Regions from separate parts of the Homo sapiens genome. Here region 1 is linked to region 2. Evidence: promoter capture Hi-C in 16 types of primary human blood cells and fetal thymus (Javierre and others, 2016). All regions are on one chromosome and are shown on one strand. Each heading gives the region's core, a stretch centred on a gene start or on the middle of the fragment in contact. The rest is flanking DNA. Distances are from core to core; before and after follow the strand shown. Region 1 holds the start of NARS1 (asparaginyl-tRNA synthetase 1). Region 2 holds the start of VPS4B (vacuolar protein sorting 4 homolog B).

Evidence for each region. Contacts are between HindIII fragments. The CHiCAGO score rates a contact against its expected background, and 5 or more counts as called.
Region 1: the fragment with the promoter of NARS1 here is called in contact with the fragment with the promoter of VPS4B in region 2 in 1 of 17 cell types (neutrophils); the score reaches 5.1 in neutrophils.

The regions. Positions count from the first base shown.
Region 1 is chr18:57,620,392-57,623,589 of GRCh38, forward strand. It overlaps NARS1 (asparaginyl-tRNA synthetase 1), which reads right to left and starts at 1,445. Exons shown (of 14, transcript NM_004539.4): 1 at 1,317-1,445; 2 at 178-260. The coding sequence starts at 1,326. RefSeq lists enhancers at 1,294-1,998, 1,379-1,718. The HindIII fragment of the contact is 17,897 bases long and covers 1-3,198 here.
Region 2 is chr18:63,420,938-63,424,285 of GRCh38, forward strand. It overlaps VPS4B (vacuolar protein sorting 4 homolog B), which reads right to left and starts at 1,539. Exons shown (of 11, transcript NM_004869.4): 1 at 1,296-1,539. The coding sequence starts at 1,322. RefSeq lists an enhancer at 1,407-1,706. The HindIII fragment of the contact is 6,978 bases long and covers 1-3,348 here.

The sequences.
Region 1 (3,198 bases), core at 195-2,694, 5.8 Mb before region 2:
ACTTTGATCATCTAACAATCTTAAAGTCACATATCTGTATGCATTCCTTACTTTCCCTTTTCTGAAAATTCTCTTTGGAACCTAGTGTTTGAAATTAAGTTCTTGGCAAGTCACAAGAAAATTGACATAACTCATTAATAAATGCAGTCTCATTTTCCTAATGAGAAGAGACTCTACCTTTAGACCTGTTTTAAATGGTTTCTCCTTGGTTCCATCTCCCGTGGCATCGCTTCCCTCTCGGTCAGAGACGTACAGCTCTGCTGTTTGACAAAATGAGGGTAAGTTATGGTCTGGCCATTAACTATTAGTCACCTTACTACTTTATTCATTCCTTATCTTTGTAAACAGAACAAGCATCGATTAATAAAAATTGAGGTCCATAAGTAATTAATATCCTAGTTATTTCCCCACTCCATTTCAATAACATCCATCTCATAAAAACATTAGTTAATAATCCAGGTTTTCAAAATGAACTCTGATCATTTTAATTTGTGATATTTATTCTATCTAATTGGGCACCCAAAAATAAAATATGGGCTTTGAAGTTGATCAGACATACGCTGGAATGTTGGATTTTGTACCTTAAAAGGCAGGGTGACTCTGGAGAATTTACTTAACCTTTCTGAGCTTATTTCTTTACCTATAAAATAGGAAAAACAATCCCCATCTTGAAAGGCTGTGCTGAGGATGAAATAAAATAACACATACAAATCAGATATCCCAGTGCCAGTTTTTGTAGAGATGGCAAATAAACACCAGCTCCCTCTGGACTTTAAAGGAAACAGAAGCTCTGAGGTTAGAAAATTTCAGAAGGCCTCACAACTAGTAGGTCTGAACAGTTAACATCCATCCAGGTCTCTCTCTTTTTTTTTTTTTTTTTCCTACTGCACAGTATGGTCTCCCCGGAAACCTCAATAAAAAAATGAGGGTGGGAGAAAAACAACTAGAATCCTAAAGCCCCTTCCTGACGATCACTTTGAAGAACTGCAGGAGTAGGGGCTACCCTGTGTCTGAACCCGTCCCAGCGCCTGAGTCTCAGCGCAATCGGGAGGTTTCGCAGCGGGGCAGGGGAAGGGCCCGGAGCCACCGCCATCGCAGCCCGGGGGAACGACGGACTCGGGGAAGCCCGGCCTGGCCCTTCAAGTCCCGGGCCCAGCAAAGGCCAGCACCCTCCCTCCCTCCCTCCCTGCAATCGGTCCCCAAACATTCGCGGGGCGCCCACTCTGGTAGGCACTAAGGAAAGCGCCGAAACCCGACTGGAGCAGAGTTCCTGCCCCAGGCAGGGAACACCGCGCCATACACTGAGTCTCACCCACCTAGCACCATGCCTGCAGTGGCCCTGGTCACCTCCAAGGACACAGACTGCAACACCGACGCCGTCTTATGACTCCAACGTGCACCGGCGGTTTCCGCGATTCCGGCGTTGCATCAGAGAGCGTAGATCTGAGGGCGCCTGCGAGAATCGGCCGAGCGCCGCGGTTCCATTGGTTACGAGAGGTGGGCGAGCGGCGCCGGGGCCGCCATCTTTGGTGAGGGCAGAGGCAACTTCCGGATCCAGAGACGCCCCGCCCCACGCGTTTGTGCAGCTCGGAAGGCGCTGCCTGTCCCGGAGCTCCGCGGCCCTGGAGACCCTGGCACAGTGTCACTTTTGCACCCTTCCTTCCCCGCCTCCCCAACTTTCCTTTCTGAATCTTCCAATTCCGCCCCAGCTGGAGGCGTGCGGGTCCTCTTGCAAACCAGACCAAGGATGTCGCCCCGATCCCCAGATGGTGGAGGCTGGTTGAGTTCATGTCACCAGCAAACACCGCGCCAGCTGCGAGACGGGGTGCGCGGCGGTGGAGGGGACGCAGCGGGTTGCGTAAACTTCCTTTTTTTTTTTTTTTTTTTTGAGACGGAGTCTCGCTCTGTCACCCAGGCTGGAGTGCAGTGGCGCGATCTCGGCTCACCGCACCCTCCACCTCCCGGGTTCAAGCGATTCTTCTGCCTCAGCCTCCCGAGTAGCTGGGATTACAGGCCTGTGCCACCATGCCCAGCTAATTTTTGTATTTTTAGTAAAGACGGGGTTTCACCATCTTAGTCAAGCTGGTCTCGAACTCCTGACCTTGTGATCCGCCCACCTCGGCCTCCCAAAGTGCTGGGATTACAGGCGTGAGCCATCGCGCCCGGCCAGATGCGTTAACTTTCTAAACTCCGTGAGCCAGCGTCCCTCGGTGTTCAGGAGAGGAGCTATGGTATATGTTCATTTAAAATTGTAAGGATTACCGTTAGGAAGGCCATAATAATGTGGTGGAAAGAACGAGGGCTTCGGAATACAAACCTGGGTTCTGCCTTTTACTAACCGTGTGTCTTCAGATAAATTACCTAAACTGAATGAGCTTCATTCAGCGAGTTGGGACCGATTGCAGGGAGGGAGGGAGGGTCCTGGCCCTTGCTGGGCCCGGGACTTGAAGGGCCAGGCCGGGCTTCCCCGAGTCCGTTGTTCCCCGGGCTGCGATGGCGGTGGCTCCGGCCCCTGCCCCTGCCCCGCTGCGAAACATCCCGATTGCGCCGAGAGTCAGGCGCTGAGAGGGGTTTATCTGTGTCTTCAGATAAATTACCTAATCTGAATGAGCTTCAGTTTTTCTATTTGTGAAAGATGATATAAATTCACTGCCCGGGCATGTAAGAGGTGCTAATAAAGGGTCTGTCATCATTTTCAACTTTTTTTTACTTTTTTGGTGGGCTTTTTTTTTTTTTGGAGACTGGGTCTTCTCTGTTGCTCAGGCTGGAGTGCAGTGGTGCTATCATAGCTCACGGCAGCCTCGAACTCCTGGGCTCAAGTGAGCCTCCCACTTAAGCCTCCCAAGTAGCTGGGACTATAGGTGCACGCCACCACGCCTGGCTTATTTTATTTTTATTTTTGTGGAGATGGGGGAGGGGTCTCCCTGTGTCGCCCAGGCTGGTCTCCAACTTCTGGGATCAAGTGATCCTCCTGCCTCAGCCTCCCAAAGTGCTGGTCTTACAGGCGTGAGCTACCACGCCCAGCCCATTCTCAATTTAGTGGAATACCAGAGTTTGTCCCTGAAGCAAAAGAAAACCTTTTTTTTATGAGAGGTCCTCAAAAAAATAACTCTATATATAGGTTCAGGGCCCATCAAGAATATGAACCAAGTCCGGGCACAGTGGCTCATGATTGTTATCAATCCCAGCACCTTGGGA
Region 2 (3,348 bases), core at 289-2,788:
TGAGGCAAGAGAATCGCTTGAACCTGGGAGGTGGAGGTTGTAGTGAGCTGAAATCACGCCACTGCACTCAAGCCTGGGCGACCGTGCAAGACTCCGTCTCAAAAAAAAAAAAAAAAAGAAAGAAAAGAAAAGGAAAAAAACACAGACAAATCAACACTTGACTTATTCCACAAAATGAGTCATTGTTGCAATTATACAATTATAATATTTTGTGAAAGATAACAATTATTTTAATAATCTTCTAGGTCGATTTTCAAGATGAAAGTCCCAAGCAAGCCTCCTTTCCCACTCTTTTTGTGTATGTGTGTGTGAAATTTTAATCTCTGTTTAAGTGGGTCTACTTTGAGTGGTCTTTCTTCAGAATCAATTATCATGGGTTAAGGAGTTCTTCCATTACCTTTGATGCCTCTGTCAGGCACTCCAATAACTGCTTGTTCAACAAACTACCGGAAGTCCACGACGGGGACTCAATACAAGTATTTTAGGCTACTCTTTTGTGCCTTATTGACTTACTGGACTGGGAGTCCTCTACATTAAGCCACATTACATTCTAAACGCCACTGAAGCCCTAGATCCATTCTGGGGATGGGAGACACCATTACATTAAGAAATTTCTTTTCTGAACGAATTCCATTCCACAGAGGACTAACGATTAAGCCTAAAATCTTAAGATTCCATGATTTGTGTACAAAACACTGTGCTCATTGCGGTAGAGGAGGGGAAGTGGAGCCACACAGAGGTTTAAGAATACTCCTCGATCTTACACACTACCATCTGGGAGCCACAGGAGTGTGCACATAAATTCAATGACTTCACGGAGATTGCATGCAGGCTGGCTGTAATCTCAGATTCTTGGTCTGTTCCCATATCTCTACTCACCTGACAGCTCAGAATGAAGGGGTCTGCTGTCAGCTTGAGAAACTAAGACCGAACTATGACCACCCTATCTTCAACTGGTCCAGAATAGGGCTTTGCAAAAATTACGTTCTTTCTTTCTCCGTTAACCCTGATTGGAGAAACCTGCCCAGATCTTGGCTGGTTTGGAAGCGGGAAGTGTCAACAAAAGTGAAGAGTCTCACAAAGCCAGTAGCTCGGGAGACCCCAAGAGCGGGCCAGAAACGACCTTTCCGTTGGAAAACGGGCCCCTCTCCCACCTGCTGCAGGTCCCCGGACCCGCCCTCCTGCGCCTCGACCACAGGCGCGGCCGCTTCCTCCCTTCTCCCCGCCCCCCACCCGCTTCTCGCGCCTCCCCTCGATCCCAGCTCCCTAGGGGGACGGGAGATGAGCAATGATACCTGGAGGTTGGGCGAAGTGGATGACATGGCGGAGTTCCCAGGCGGTTCCCAAGGGAACGAGGGGCGAGGAGAGCCAACAGCAGCAACGTCGAAGCGCGCACGGGGTAACAGCCCTCAAACTGGGGAGGCCGGTGGTTCTCGGACCGCGAAGGGCAGCCTCCCTTCCGGAACTTGTTTTAGACAACACTCTCTCCACCAGAGCTCCGACCCTCCCCACCAAACTTCCGCAATCCCGAGGCCCTCTAGGTTCTGGTCCCGCCTCTGCTCCGGGCACTTCCGATTTCGTCATCAGCACGCGCACCCAGTCACCAGACTCCCTTCTCTAGCCACAGCGCAGGCCCTCCCTGGGCCGGGAGAAGTAGCCTGGAAGCCAATCGAGCCCTGGCGGAAGTCGGGCTCGGCGCAGGCGCACTGAGACTCTGGCCTAGGCGCGGGCGGCAGCCTGGCAGACCTAGGAGAGCGCAAGCGCGGAAGCACAGAGCCGGGTTTTGTTGTTTGTTTGTTCCCCACCCCCGGGGACGTCTTTTACTTTGAGATGAATTATTGGCCCCGGCTCCCTTCCCTCCTCATCCACATGCTTTGTTGCCTCGTAGCTTTTGAGTGAAAAAGTCGTCCATTTCCAAGACCCGCCGACTGGGGGCTTTGGGCCTGTGACTGCGCCTTCACTCCGTGTCCTCTGTGGAATGGGGGCGATCACCGTCCTCGTCTCGGTGGTGAATAATTCAGGAGGGAGTGCGCGGTGAGGCGGCCGCACAGCGGTGCGCTAGCAGTCAGGCCGCGGGCGGGTCGGCGCTCGTTCCCGCTTGTTCTTCCCACGCCACTCGGCATCTTCCAAATGACTGTTGTGTTGGGAAGATGAATGTAAATAAGGCGTGGACGGCCGCTGTCCTCGAGTATGTGGTCTGAGAGGGAAGCACTTGTCCTGTAAAATGGGCATATCAGATATTATTTATGCCAGTTATGTTTACAAGCAAATGGCTTGAGGAGGTTGAATGCGTCAGGGATTAGAGGCAGAACCAAAGTAAAACCCTTTCTCAGCCTTCCTATGGTTTGCAGCCACCACCACCCTTTTCTTCTTTTCATAGTTAACATTCTCAAAGGAAAGCAACATAGATGTTTAATCACTCCATCATTTTTTTCTCACTCATTTCTTAATTTTTTCTCATCTGGCATCTCCGAAAGAATTAAAGTCCTCTCCTCTTCCCTCTTCATTGGTATTGTCAACTACCCAGTTCTTGTTTGTCCAGCTTCCCAATATTCCTTATCTGCTTCCTTCACTGTCTCCCTTTCTTACTCCTCCCTGAGCTTAAGCTGAATTTACTCAAGAGTCTGATGTCCTCTTCTCTCTTCACCTCTGCTCATCTAACTCTCTTCTTGAGCTTCAGCTATCAATAGACTAGAAATTGCTTCAAATCTGGATCTCTAGACCCACCCCATCCCCAGCCCAGCATTTACAACAGCCTCCCAGAGGTTTCCTTCACAGGGTTTTTCTGCAAGACAAATTCAACATACTCTAATTAATTACCTTCTACCCTAAACTTCTTTCTCTGGTCTCTCCTTAGAATAGTATTGCCAAATCTGTATCATCCAGGCTCGAAGCACAGAGCCCTCTCTCTGCCCTGCATCTACCCGTCCTTTCTTCCCACTTGTGAATTTGCCTTCGCAAAATGATGACTGAGACAGTGAAAGAGATCTAACTTAACCAACTCCATCTTACTTTTAACCTCCAAGCTGTCCTTGTACATTCCTGAGCATAGGCTGAACTAACTGTGGGAGAAACTGAGTTTATAATTTAAGCAAAGATGGGCCGGGCGTGGTGACTCACGCCTGTAATCCCAGCACTTTGGGAGGCCGAGGTGGGTGGATCACTTGAGGTCAGGAGTTCGAGACCAGCCTGGCCAACATGGTGAAACTCCATCTCTACTAAAAATACAAAAATTAGGCCGGGTGTGGTGAGTCACGCCTGTAATCCCAGCACTTTGGGAGGCCAAGGCGGGCGATCACCTGAGGTCAGCAGTTCAAGACCCGCCTGGCCAACATGGTGAAACCCTGT